Linked DNA regions of Homo sapiens: regions 2, 3 and 4 are each linked to region 1. Evidence: promoter capture Hi-C in 16 types of primary human blood cells and fetal thymus (Javierre and others, 2016). All regions are on one chromosome and are shown on one strand. The core of a region is centred on a gene start or on the middle of the fragment in contact, and the rest is flanking DNA. Distances in the headings are between cores, read along the strand shown.

Region 1 (3,535 bases), core at 407-2,906:
AGTCCTGGGATTACAGGCATGAGCCACTGCACCCAGCCCAAGATTTTTTATTTTTAAAGACACTCAATAGTTAAAAGTCAACTTAATTAAAAGCTAATATTTAAAATGTATGTGTATGTGTATGTGTGCATAAGTGCATGTTCATATTTAAAAGGCCTTCATGGTTTTGTTTTTGTTTTTCTCTGCTAGGACCTTGTCTTTTTTTGAGCAAAAACTTTTTTTGTTCTCAATTGACTCAATTCTGTTTCCACTCGATTTTTTTTTTTTTTTTTACTAAAATAGTTATTGCAACAGAGGCTACTCTTGGGTTTTTAAGAAAGAGTATAGTTTAGACACTTAGAAATGCTTTGTTTACAAAAATGTTTTAAGTGCACTGTAAAAGCATCATGTGGTCTAGCCTCATAATAATTCTCCCTTTTTGGAGACCCAGGATTCAGTGTGGGCTCTGCCCAGAGCTCAGAGATCCAGTTAAAAAAGAATTGGTAGTCCCTATCTAAATAACAGTGGTCTCCTTATACAATCCAGTGATAAATTTCTATAATTTTATGTTCAATTGGCAATTAAATCTGTTTTAATTTCCCTCTAGCTCACAGAATTTCTCTTCAGACCTTATAATGTAAATTTTGCTATCTGACTTTCACCTGAGTTGTTTCCTTTAATATGCAAATTTAAGACTATTTAGCTGACTACTGCCTAGCACTGTGAAACAGGTTATCAAGAATCTGAAAGTCTAAGATAAAGAAAAAAGGTTTTTATGAATCTGTAAGATGTACTTCTTCTATCAGCATGCCTAATACATCTATGTATTTATATGTTATGTATACAATGTTGCACTCCTGAAAATATATCAAAGAGCTCTAATTAATTGTCTTAAAAAATAAAAGCATTTACATCAAATACTTTATTAGAAAAAGGAAAGACTAGTCAAATGCTTTTTCAAGTTATGTGACTTAAGTAAAATCTTTAATAAATAAGCTATCTTTAAAATTATTGGTAAAGTAATATTAGAAATGTCTTAGGAATTGCCAGCATACATTTTTATTTGCGTTTATTAATCAAGCAATTTCATACTTAACCCTGCCAAATACTATTAGGTGTCAAAATTTGGCACAGGCTATAAACCCAGCCCAAGACAGAATGATCTCTGCTCGTGTAACCATTAATAAATAAGACATTGATACTGGTTTAATGAAAATAGCTACATCTTGATTTAGTAAAATTACCATAACTTCTAATCTTGTGGCAGTCTAGGCAGTCTAGTCCACAGGCAGTAAGGAGTTTTGTTTTGGGAAAGGACTGTTATACTTTGTTTCAAAGTTAAACTATAAGTAAACTTGCATGGGAAGAGAATGTTTAATTTTGTGAAAAACGACCAAACTGTCTTCCAAAGTAGCTCTTAGAGACAACCTGTCCACAGAAGAACGCAGCAAGCCCCCTCCCCTAAATGCCCTGCAGCTTATTTCTTCTGAGATGCTGCCCCTACTTCACGTTACCAGAACTTAGGTACAGCTGTATCCACCCCCAGGCCAAACCACATCCTGGTACTCTAAGCCAGGTGGGGCAAGAAGTGACAAACAACTGCAGGATGTAGACTAACCTCAGAAAGCCCCTAGGCCCTCAAAGCCCTATATAAGTCCCTCACCTTAAACACCCTGGGCTGCCTCCTCTGACTGTTATGCAGCAGGCCGGCAGGTCAATAAACTTGCTTGCCTGACTTTGAGTATACTCGTCTTTTCTCTTGGCCAACCTTACGGTAGCTGTACCAGTTTGCATTTCCACCAGCAATGAATGAGAGTTCCTGTTGCTCTGCATCCTCACCAGCATTTGGTGTGGTCAGTATTTTGGATTTTCACCATTCTAATAGGTGTGTAGTAGTATGCTATTCTTGTCTAATTTGCTGTTCCCCAATGACATATGATGTTGGGCATATTATCATATACTTATTTGCCGTTGGTAGATCTTCTTTGGTGAGAGGTCTGCTCAGATCTTTTATCCATGTTTTAACTGGGTTATTCTTTTTCTTTTTTTTTTGAGTCTTAAGAGTTCCTCGTGTGTTTTGGATAACAGTCCTTTATCAGAGATGTCTTTTGCAAATAGTTTCTACCAGTCTGTGGCTTATCTTCACATTCTCTTCACAGTGTCTTTCAGAAAGCAAATAATAATAATAATAATAATTACGTCTAATTTATCAATTATTTCTTTCATGGATTATGCTTTTTGTGTTGTATCTAAAAAGTAATCATGATGCCCAAGGTCATCTAGATGTTTTGTCTTCTAGGAGTTTTATTGTTTTGTGTTTTTACATTTAAGTCCATGATCCATTTGAGCTGGCTTTTGTGAATGGTGTAAGATCTGTACCTGGATTTGTTTTTGTTTTTGCATGTAGGTGTACAGTTGTTCCAGTGCTCATTGTTGAAAAGACTCTTTGAACCATTGTATTGCCTTTCTTTTTTCGAAAGGTCAGTTGACTGTATTTACATGTGCCTATTTCTGGGATTCCTATTCTGTTCCATTTATCTATTTGTTTATTCTTTAACTAATACCACACTATCTTGATTACTGTTGATTTATAGTAATTCTTGAAGTTGGGTTGTATCCGTCCTCTGACTTATTTGTTCAATATTGTGTTGGCTCTTCTGGGTCTTTTGCCTTTCCACATAAACTTTAGAATTAGTTTGTTGATATCCACAAAATAACTAGCCATGATTTTCACTGGGATTTCACTGGATCTACAGATCAATTTGGGAAGAATTGATATCTTGATAATATTGAGTTTTCCTGTCCATGAATATAAAATGCCTCTGTATTTATTTAGTCCTTCATAGATTTCTTTCATCAGAATTTTGTAGTTTTCCTTATGTAGAATTTGTACATACCGTGTTAGATTTATACCTAAGTTTTATAGGGGGGTGCTAATGTAAATGGTATTGCATTTTTAATTTCATATTCCACTTGATCATTATAGGTATATGGGAATTGACTTTTATACATTAACTTTGTATCTGCAATCTTGTTCTCATTGCCTCTTAGTTCCAGGACATCGATTTGGCAATTCTTTCATAATTTTCTGCATGGATAATTATGTCTTCTATAAAGACAGACCATTTTATTTCTTCCTCTTCAGTCTGTACAACTTTTATTTCTTTTTCTTGGCTAACTGTGTTAGCTAGGATTTCCCGTACAGTGTTGACTAGGAATGGTGTGAGCAGACATTCTTGTGTTATTCCTGATTCCACTGGAAAACGATCTAGGTTTTCACCATTAATTCTTATGTTGGCTGTAAGGTTCCTGTTTATGTTCTTTATCAAGTGGAGGATGTGTCCCTCTATTCCTAGAGTGCCGAGACTTTTTATCATGAGCTGGTGTTGGATTTTGTCAAATGCTTTTTCTGCATCTAGCAATATGATCATATGATTTTTCTTTAGTCTGTTGGTGGATTATATTAATTGATTTTTGAACATTGAACTAGCCTTGCCTAGCTGTAATAAATTCCGCTTTAACCTGGTGTACAATTCTTTTGATACATTGTGGGTTT
Region 2 (3,535 bases), core at 303-2,802, 180 kb after region 1:
GAGGGGCTCACTGGGATGTGAGGTCACCCTAAAACAAGGAAATCAGTTTTATCTTTTCTCCTCCTTTCATAAATAATCTGTGTCCCCATAACGTCCATTTTAATGTATTTGAATCAAAATATGCACATCCTCATAGGACATACAGTGCCGTATGCCCTACATTAACATAATGGCATTATACAACAATTCTCATGTCTTGCTTTCAGTATTCAACACTATTTTTAAGAGCCACCCGCTTGCTGTTCATAGTTCTAGGTCTGTCTCTCATGGCTATACAGTATTCCATGGTACGCACCTGCCGCCTTTGACTTGTCCAAGACCTTGCTTGCCTCCATCAACACAGTCACTCAGAATCATTACCAAGGAATCCTTCCGTAAGTCCATTCATGGACCCAGGTAGAAATCTCTCCGGAGAGCCACGCGCAAGTGGCTCTCTGAATCAAAGGGCACACACGCTGCTAACTTTTAAGCTGCCAGCTTCCCTTCTGGGGTACGCATTGCAGTTTGCACCACCACCAGCAATATTGAAGTCCAGGCCCCGCATCACTGCCAGCACTTGAAGTCTGGCAATTCTGAGGGGCATAAGGTAGTGGGTCTTAATTTACATTTGCATTTCTTCAGCTTAGTTTATCTCTTGTTCACCATTTGGGTTTCCCCTGCTGTGAATCACCTATTAATATCCATGGCCGGTTTTTTCTTTTGGATTTCCTTTTTCTTGTTGTTTTGCATGAAACTTTGTACATTTTAATCCCTTTTCAATTTCAGTCACTGCAAATACCTTCTTAGTCTGCCATCTGTTAGCTTTGATGAACAGAAAGTCTTACTTTAGATGTAGTCAAATCCATCCTTTCCCCCTTACATTTGGTGCTTCTTGTGAGGTTTAAAAAGTGACTTTTAAGGACAACTTAGAATGAAAAACAATCTGAAGCTATGTTTAGAATAAAATAAATATGCAGGAATTATTTTCTGTAAGCAGGGCTTCAGAAAATATCAATCTCACTTTGCCTCTATTATTACTACCTAATTCTGGGATTTCTTTTTCCTTTCTGTCAAGGCTGAACAGGTTGCGAAAAAAGGAAACCACTTGAGGTAAACTTGGTTTTCCTAAGTTTTTCTAAATAAAGCTTTAAAATGCAACACTCCCTTAACAAACTCTGGTGGAGGGAAGTGAACAGAGAACTGAGACTCAGAGGCCTGGGTTCCATCCCGCCCTTCACGGCACATTGCATATGGTTTTAAAACCACACACAACTCTGCACATCTGGAAAGAACAGCAAAAATTGAGAATAAAATATATATATATTTTAGACAGAGTCTTGCTCTGTCGCCTAGACTGGAGTGCAGTAGCACAATCTTGGCTCACTGCAAACTCCGCCTCCTGGGTTCAAGTGATTCTCCTGCCTCAGCCTCCTGAGTAGCTGGGACTACAGGCGCCCGCCACCTTGCCCAGCTAATTTTTGTATTTTTAGTAGAGACAGGGTTTCACTATGTTGGCCAGGCTGGTCTCAAACTCCTGACCTCGTGATCCGCCTGCCTTGGCCTCTCAAAGTGCTGGGATTACAGGCGTAAGCCACTGCACCCGGCCTAGAATAGATTTTAAAAGATTTCTTTCATAAATTTTAGAAACCTAAAGAGGTGATTTGTGAAAGAAACCAGATTTTCATTAGTTTACAAATATTTACAAAATACTATGTACTACTCGGTGTCTTCTTTACTGGATTATAAATGTAGAAACATGGAAAGTAAACACAGGACCTGTCATGGTCCATGTTCAAGGACATTTGGGCCAGAAATAGATACACTGATGGAAAACAGGGCCACGGGAGGTGGGAGAGAATTTAAACGTGTAATTTGAACATTAAACAGCCAGGAACTTCCAGAAAATTCTCTTGTGCTGCCATGACCAGTATCAAAGAACTTTACAAGGCTGAGGAGAGCCCACCAAATGTTTTAAGTGTTTTGAGTCTAAAATCTGGGTATTAAAGCTTGGGCCAAGTGGGAGAAAAAGCAATCTTAGGAAAAGAAAGTGCTAAGTCTGGTCCCTGGAGTTTAAGGCTTGTGTAATGACAGGCAAGAATAAGGTGATTAGGCCCGGTGCGGTGACTCACGCCTGTAATCCTAGCACTTTGGGAGGCCGAGGCAGGTGGATCACGAGGTCAGGAGATCGAGACCATCCTGGCTAACACGGTGAAACCCCGTCTCTATTAAAAATACAAAAAATTAGCTGGGTGTGGTGGCAGGCGCCTGTAGTCCCAGCTACTAGGGAGGCTGAGGCAGGAGAATGGCGTGAACCCGGGAGGCGGAGCTTGCAGTGAGCCGAGATCGCGCCACTGCACTCCAGCCTGGGCGACAGAGTGAGACTCCGTCTCAAAAAAAAAAAAAAAAAAAAAAAAAGATGATTAATATTTTCAGAACTGTCCACTTCAAACTCTGATTCTCATGAAGGCAAAAAGGGTGAAAGGTAGTATTCACACTCCCAATTAGAAGCCTGAGAGAACAGCAAGAACAGCTGGCACAAGGATGTTGTAGAAATAACACAAGAGAAGACCCACACTGGGGATTCTAAAGCTGCTCCTTTGTGTTTCGATGGCGTTGCCACCGACAAACCTTTCCCCTTCCAGTCACACAGGGGCCACTGGAATCCCAATCCCTTGACAAAACACCAGATGCCTGAGATGTTTATTTGATGACTGGTTGAACGGGAGGAAAAAAACTCCTTTTCTCTCGTCTTTGGAGTTCACCTACTTAAACAAGAAGTCTGTCTTTTGTGCCTGTCACCATCGTGTTCTGTGAGGAGGTTTCAGTCCTTTACTCAAGGCAGAAATCCTTCTTAAGCCTTGATTTTCTTGTTTGGGCCTCTTACATGAAACAGACACAGGCTGTTGACAGAAATGTTGAAGTGGCCATGAAGTCTGGAGCCCGGATGTCGTTCACCTGCCAAACAGTGTCAAGGGTGAAAGGCAAAGATCGAAGGCCAAAGTGCCCCTAGCGTCCCCTGCAGCAGGTCTCAGTCAACCTTAATAGATCTATTAATAGAAAGAGGCTGGACTGCGCAAGGGCAGGGGGACTAGCCTGGCTAAAAGCAAAATAAAACACATCAACAGACACACTCTTCTTTTGTTAGGAGGAGGTGGGATCACAGGCCCACATGCTCCCAGACGAGGTGGGGCCAGGAAGACTCTCACAGGATTGCCTTTCATGCTGCCACGGATGGATGCTCCAGGCAGATCCACTCTGCCAAGGCGTGCTTTGGGATTAGCCGGGCACTCCTTTGTCTTTTCATGACGTTTCCAAAAGAAGACACTGTGACTCTGACAGAGGTGACCTGCACCTCACGACCCCCTCTGTGCAAACCATTAGCATTTCCGGATCTCAAAAAAACCAAAAAAACCCACAGGGCACATGCCAATTCATAGGACAAATGGAAACAGACTGAAAACAAAAACACAGAACCATGGCTTTTCAGACCTGTCAACATGGTTAGTGTTGGAAATAGGCACTGACTTCTCTTCCACCAAGTGGAATAAAAATTTAG
Region 3 (3,535 bases), core at 561-3,060, 160 kb before region 1:
TTTCCTTATCCATTTTGAAGTCAAGTATTTTATTATAACTGAGTTGTGATTTGTTTTCCTCTTCAGATAAATTTATTCCTATTTCTTTTCATGGCTGTTTGGTATTTTGTAATCGTTATAAGTTGCATAGCCTTGTAATTCTGTTTGCTAATTTATTGCATCTACTATGTTTTTAACATTCCTTCAGACATACATTTATATTTCCATATCATAGTTTCATTCTTAGGGTTGTTTGTTTCTGTTTGTTTGTTTTTGACAGAGTCTGGCTGTGTCGCCCAGGCTGGAGTGCAGTGGTGCAATCTCGGCTCACTGCAACCTCCGCCTCCTGAGTTCAAGCGATTCTCCTGCCTCAGCCTCCCGAGTAACTGGGACTACAGGCATGTGCCACCATGCCTGGCTAGTTTTTTTTTTTTTTTTTTGTATTTTTAGTAGAGACGGGGTTTCACCGTGTTAGCAAGGATGGTCTCAATCTCCTGACCTCGTGATCCACCTGCTTCGGCCTCCCAAAGTGCTGGGATTACAGGCGTGAGCCACTGTGCCTGGTCGGCCCCATTCTTAGGGTTTTTAAGTGACATTGAATATAATGATTATTGTGTCTGCCCACTTCCAAGAATCTTGCCTCATTTTTGTTTTCCATCTTGTTGCACAGGCCAGAAATTTCAGAACCATGTTCAGCTGCGCTTAGGGAAGGCAGGTGTTTGGGTCCTGATTTGATTTCCGGGGAAGGCCTCTAACATGCCACCTTTAGGAATGGTGTTCACTTTTGGTTTCATATAGAAAGAAATTCACATCATCAAGAATGCAGCCTCCTATTCTAAAGGGGTTCCAAAAATTCAGAATTGGTGTTTAATTTCACCAAATGTCTTTTCAGCCTCCATAGAGACTGATGCTTTATTTCCTTATTTAGATTGTTGATATGGTACAGTATTGATGATCAAAGAACTTTTGGAGTCTTGGAATAAATTCTTTTGTTAGATGTTTCCTGAGCGCTCTCATACATAGTCCTCTGTTGAGACTTCTGTTGGTAAAAATTCTGTAATGAAGTGATTCTCTCCTGTGAGGGTGGGTGGAAATTGATGAGATGGGGAAGAAAGGGACTTTCTGGGGTGTGGCAATGTTCTATGTCTTGATCATAGGATTATTACACAGGTGTATACAGTAGTCAAAGTTGGGCAGAACACTTATGAAGTGAGCATTTACTCCCTGTCACTTTTGTTTCAATGAGTCACCAGCACACAGAGCCCAAGAGCTATGCAGGACCAGAGGTTTGTCTCCATCTCCACAGAGACCTGAGAGGGGAAGCTCTGTAGGTCTCTTGCTGGCTGGTGATCGGGGTCAGTACTAGACTGCAGGATTCCTGACTCTGACCAGAGCATTCCCCACTGTGTGTTACAGGAACAGGCAAAAGCTGAAAGGGTCATGGGAGGAGGCTGCTGGTTCCAGTGAATGGCGCTGACCCCACTGAGAGTAAGTGTTTTGTGCCTGGAGATGTAGAAGGAATGGAGGCAATAGGGACGATGTCCTAACTGCTAGCCCCATAGCTGAGAGTGCTCTTCTGGAGCATTCCCTGCTGGAAGTAGGGGGTCCTATGCCGATCCTGTGCTGATGATCTTTGGAGCATGAAGACCCTAAATCCCTCTCTTTCCTCTTCTTCTCAGTCAACACCTTGCTGGAGGCCTCAAACACTGAAAGAAAGACATGCAAAGGAAATAATTCAGGACCAACTGGTGGGCTCCAAAAATCTCTTCTATGAGGAAGGTGAATGCAGGCTCTGCTACGTCCTGCCTGTGAAAGAATCCCTTCAGGAAACCAGAGCTTCCCTCGTTTACCTTTTCTCCTACAAAGGGAAGCAGCCTGGAAGAAAGAGTCCAGTACTTGACCCATGCCTCAACAAACTCTGCTATCAATATGGTGCAGCTTACCAAAGGTCCTAGAACTTTGTCAACGCACTTGGAGTAATTTTTATGAAATATTGTGTGTGATAAGCAAACTGTGGAAATTTATATAAGATGTTGGTGGCATAGAGTTATACGATTGTGTATTAAGGGTAGTTTTAGGATGTCATTTTTTTTTCAGTTCATCATGACAGAAGTCCTTTTCATGAGAGAAGTCACATGAGAAAAAACTTTCTTATATTGTAAGCTCCTTCTATAGTGGTATGTGCATTTAATGACATCCAACTAAAGATGGTGTAATACCACGGTGGTTTGACTTAGAGTTTTTTAACTTTATATCTGGTTTATCTGGGTATTACATGCGTTTTAAATGTGGATCTTTTCAACTTACGATGAGATTATCAAGACATAGCCCCATGCTAAGTCATGAGCATGTGGACTTATAATGGTTCAATTTAGATTTTTCGGCTTTAAGATAGGATTATTGGGGCTTACCCCCATCTTAAGTAGAGAAACATCTGTATTGTGTAATACTATATGATGTACATTTTTCTGTTTTCCTATTTTCGTGCATGTTGATGTAAGCATGGAAAAATTTTAGGAAATGTATTTATTAGGCTGTTTACATGGGCTGCCTGGTGCAAATCAGCAGTCAAAAATGACTACATACACAACTAGCAATGGGAGGAGAAATCCTCCCTCTGTGGGAGGCACTGACTACATTCCAGTTCTCCCTCCTACGCCCAGAGACTGGACCAGGGTTTGATGACTGGCAACTTCTCAAGGGGCCGGTCTGTCTTAGTTGATGATTTTAGAGGTATATAGAGGTATTTATTTACAAATAAACAAATATTTATTTATAAGTAGATGTTTACATATGCCCAGGATTTTGAAGAGCCTGGTATCTTTGGGAAGCCATGTGTCTGGTCTGTCCTGCTGGGACAGTCATGGGACTGCATCTTCGTCCTTGTCCACAGCAGATGAGGACAGTGAGAATTAGGTTAGATCTGGGACTACAAATAGCTTCTCTTTCAAGTGCCATTACAGCTGAACATTAGTGAATCTTGGGCCTTCTTTGGGCTCAGGGCAGAGCAGGTGTTTATCTGCCCCGGCATCTGCTATGGCATCAAGAGGGAAGAGTGGACGGTGCCTGGGAATGGTGTGAAATGATTGCTGACTCAGGAGTGGATGGGCCCCTCTCGCTTCTGGTGGTCTGTGACCCTGAGCCCCTGAGCTGCATTTTACGGTAAAGATTCCTGAGCTGCAGCATCTGACTCATCTCAGAAATATCAATTCTTAAACACTGTGACAACAGGACCTAGAATGGCTGACACATTAAGGCTTTGTCCTTGTGTCACGCTCTATTATTTTATTTAAAAACTTCAGTAATCATTTTAGCCTCTTTCCAGCAAACTCTTCTCCATAGCAGTCCAGTAGTGGTAGGATAAATTATGGATGTAGTCGTTCAAGGGATTTTGGTCTTTTCCATCTCAAGCCATGTGTTTTGTCTTGTTCCGGGACTGGTTTGGCTGGGACAAAGTTAGAATTGCCTGAAGATTTAGGCACATTCAGTGTTGTGTCCATGGAGTTTTAGGAGGGGGTAGCCTTTCTGGTCTTTGCACTTCCATCCTCTCCCACTT
Region 4 (3,535 bases), core at 385-2,884, 160 kb after region 1:
GTTTACAGCTTTTTGCTAGTGTAAATTACGCCATGACAATTACCCCTGTGAAAGTAATATTTATTGATTGGGTACAGTGTGGTTCCTGCTAATTGTTACAGATGAGAAAGCCCTGGCTCAGAGAAGTGATTTTCCCAGCGTCACAGAGGCAGGGAATGGCCGAGCTGGGAGAACCAAAAGGAGCTTGACTCGTCCAGCAAGTATTAGTGGCCCACACTGGAGGCCTCAGTAAGTCCATCTCTGCCTTACCATGTCCTCACTTCCAAGAGGAAATGAGTAGAGTATCTGAAGTTTGCACTGAGTGTTTTATTGATGCCCTTTTGTTGAATTGAAATCAAGACCTAGGAGACTACTTCAGGACAACAGTAGACCCTTGTCCCAGATGAAACAAAATGATGGCGGGATGCCTTATGTCTGTAAGTCTGGATACACCTCCCACCCTGCCACCTCCACCACTCAGGTCCTGCACTGCTGCAGAGGCAGAGTCGTACAGTAGGTTCAGGGCATGCTTGTGCAGTCAGGGGGCCTGGGTTCAAATCTTGGCTCCACCATTAACTGATGTGAACTCCCTTTTCCTTCACATGCTTCATCTGTAAGAAGCGCCTCAAAATGCTCCTAAGAGGTTGAGTGGAGTGGCTTAAGCTTGTAATCTCAGCACTGTGGGAGGCCAAGGTGGGTGGGTTGCTTGAGTCCAGGAGTTTGAGACCAGCCTGGGCAACATGGCAAAACCCTGTCTCTACAAAAAATATAAAAATTAGCCAGGCGTGGTGGTATGGGCTTGTAGTCCTAGCTACTTGGGGCGCTGAGGCAGGAGGATCACTTGAGCCCAGGAAGTCAAGGCTGCATTTGAACTGAGATCATGCCACTGCACTCCAGCCCGGGTGACAAAGCGGTATCTGTTAAAAAAAAAAAAAAAGCTCCAAAGGAGTAAAAGGACTGAATGGGCTCAGACTCAGAACAGTCCCTCGTATGGTACTTGGACAATAAATGTTGCGTTGTGAGGAGGGCATCTTTGAGGAGGGCACAGTGACTCCTTGTCCCTCAGGGCTTCAGACCCCACACAGGGAGAGGGAAGGCAACACCTCCTGTCCACCCCATCCCCAGGGGTCATGTGAATTACTGCATTAGGATCCATTCCCAGAATGTGATTACTGAGTCAAAGGCTAGAGGCGATTCTTTCTTTTTTTTCCCTTGGCTTTTGCACTCTCTTGCCAAATCACTCTCCTACCAGTCTGGACCGACTTAGATTGAAAGAAGCATAGCATGTCCCAGTAGGCATAGCCTGAGGCTCCAGGGAGGCCCAGCCAATGCTGTAGCCGGTCTGTGCCTTCATGGTGCTTATATGCCAGAGTAGGAGACTGACAAGACACAAAGACACAGAAATGAGGAAATGTGGGAGTCGGTTGGTGACAGAGTGCTACAGAGAAGACTAAAGCTGGTGAGCACAGAAGGTGAAGGAGGCTCAGGTGCTAGTCCAGTAGGGGTGGCCAGGGAAGGCCCGTCTGATGAAGTGGGAAAGTAGGAATAATTTTAGTAGGTATTAGTAATGATTACTTAGATGAATAAAAATGCAGAAACGAGTAGTTAAATTTATAGAACTGCAGAAGAGGCTCCATATGGTCTATTTGTTGAATTAAATGGGGAACCAATCAACCAACCAAACAAACATTGATCCAGCCATCTGGGAAGGTGATTTGGAAATATTGTCACGTGCCGCATAATGCCATTTCAGTCAATGATGGTCCAGGTATATGTTGGTGGTCCCGTATCACTTGGTGGTCTCATAATGTTATAATAGAGCTGAAAAATTTCTCTCTCCTATTGACGCCATAGCTGTTGTGACATTGTCATGCAATAAATTATTCATGTGTTTGTAGTGATGCTGGTGTAAACAACATACAAGCTGCCAGTCATATGACAGTCTAGCACATGTCACTACGTATAGTACATAATAATTGATAATGATAATAAATCACTATGGTACTGGCTTATATATTTACTATACTATACTTTTAATTGTTATTTTAGGGTGTACTTTTACTTATTAAAAAAAAAAAAAAGCTGTCCGGGTGCAGTGGCTCATGCCTGTTATCCCATCACTTTGGGAGGCCAAGGCAAGCGGATGACCTGTGGTCAGGAGTTCGAGACCAGCCTGGCCAATACGGTGAAACCCTGTCTCTACTAAAAAATATAAAAATTAGCCCAGGCATGGTGGCGGGCGCCTGTAATCCCAGTTACTTGGGAGGCTGAGGTGGGAGAATCACTTGAACCCGGGAGGTGGAGGTTGTAGTGAGACGAGATTGTGCCACTGCACTCCAGCCTGGGTGACAGAGTGAGACTCCATCTCAAAAAAAAAAAAAACAAAAAAAAACAAGCCTAACTGTAAAACATCCTCAGTCAGGTGCTTCAGGAAGTATCCAGAAGAAGGCATTGTTATCCTAGGAGATGACAGCTCCATGTCTGTTAACGCCCCTGAAGACCTTCCTGGACCAAGATGTGGAGGTGGAGGACTGACATTGATGATCCTGACCCTGTGCGGGCCTAGGCTAATGTGCGTGTTTGTGTCTTCGTCTTTAACAAAAAAGTTTACAACACAGACAAAAGTAAATAATTTTTAAAATAGAAAAAAAGCTTACAGAATACTAAAGAAATTTAAAAATTTGGTACAGCTGTACAAAGTGTTTGTGTTTGAAGCTAAGTGTTATTACAAGAGTCAAAAAATGTTTTAAAAACTAAAAAGTTTATAAAGTAAAAGAGTTACAGTAAGCTCAGGCTAATTTATTATTGAAAAAATAAGTATTATGTATAAATTGAGTGTAGCCTAAGTGTGCAGTGTTTATAAAGCCCACAGCAGTGTACAGTGTACATTCACTCACCACGCACTCCCTGACTCAGCCAAAGCAACTTCCAGTCCTGCAAGCTCCCTTCATGGGAAATGCCTTCCCTAAACCGGTCTATCTTTTTTGTTTGTTCTTTGTTTTTTGTTTTTGAGACGGAGTCTGGCTCTGTTGCCCAGGCTGCAGTGACGCGATCTTCGCTCACTGCAAGCTCCATCTCCCAGGTTCACCCCATTCTCCTGTCTCAGCCTCCGGAGTAGCTGGGACTACAGGCGCCCGCCACCACGTCCGGCTAATTTTTAGTATTTTTAGTAGAGACGAGGTTTCACCGTGTTAGCCAGGATGGTCTCGATCTCCTGACTTCGTGATCCGCCCACCTCGGCCTCCCAAAATGCTGGGATTACAGGCGTGAGCCACCGTGCCTGGCCTTATCATTTTTTTAAATTGTATCTTTTCTATGTTTAGATATGTTTAGATACCCAAATACTTACCACTGTGTTACAAATGCCTGCAGTATTCAGAACAGTCATATGCTATACAAATCTGTAGTGCAGGAGCAACAGTCTATCCCATATACCCTAGGAGTGTAGTAAGCTATATCACCTAGGGTTGCATAAGTACATTCTGTGATGTTTGCACAATGACAAAATCGCCTAATGACGAATTTTTCAGAATGTATTTCCTCGTGTCATTAAGCA

Evidence for each region. Contacts are between HindIII fragments. The CHiCAGO score rates a contact against its expected background, and 5 or more counts as called.
Region 2: a fragment that was not itself captured here is called in contact with the fragment with the promoter of CHMP7 in region 1 in 1 of 17 cell types (M1 macrophages); the score reaches 5.4 in M1 macrophages.
Region 3: a fragment that was not itself captured here is called in contact with the fragment with the promoter of CHMP7 in region 1 in 3 of 17 cell types (non-activated CD4 T cells, naive CD8 T cells and total CD8 T cells); the score reaches 6.7 in non-activated CD4 T cells.
Region 4: a fragment that was not itself captured here is called in contact with the fragment with the promoter of CHMP7 in region 1 in 4 of 17 cell types (M0 macrophages, M2 macrophages, endothelial precursors and 1 more); the score reaches 7.1 in M0 macrophages.

What each region holds. Positions count from the first base shown.
Region 1 is chr8:23,241,981-23,245,515 of GRCh38, forward strand. It overlaps CHMP7 (charged multivesicular body protein 7), which reads left to right and starts at 1,657. Exons shown (of 11, transcript NM_152272.5): 1 at 1,657-1,864. RefSeq lists an enhancer at 1,349-1,850. The HindIII fragment of the contact is 15,350 bases long and covers 1-3,535 here.
Region 2 is chr8:23,424,756-23,428,290 of GRCh38, forward strand. No RefSeq gene overlaps it. Among named protein-coding and RNA genes, the nearest start is that of LOXL2, 22 kb to the left of the region's middle. The HindIII fragment of the contact is 861 bases long and covers 1,123-1,983 here.
Region 3 is chr8:23,079,590-23,083,124 of GRCh38, forward strand. It overlaps the pseudogene TNFRSF10B-AS1. Among named protein-coding and RNA genes, the nearest start is that of TNFRSF10B, 12 kb to the left of the region's middle. The HindIII fragment of the contact is 3,866 bases long and covers 1-3,535 here.
Region 4 is chr8:23,406,758-23,410,292 of GRCh38, forward strand. No RefSeq gene overlaps it. Among named protein-coding and RNA genes, the nearest start is that of LOXL2, 4.4 kb to the left of the region's middle. The HindIII fragment of the contact is 1,989 bases long and covers 641-2,629 here.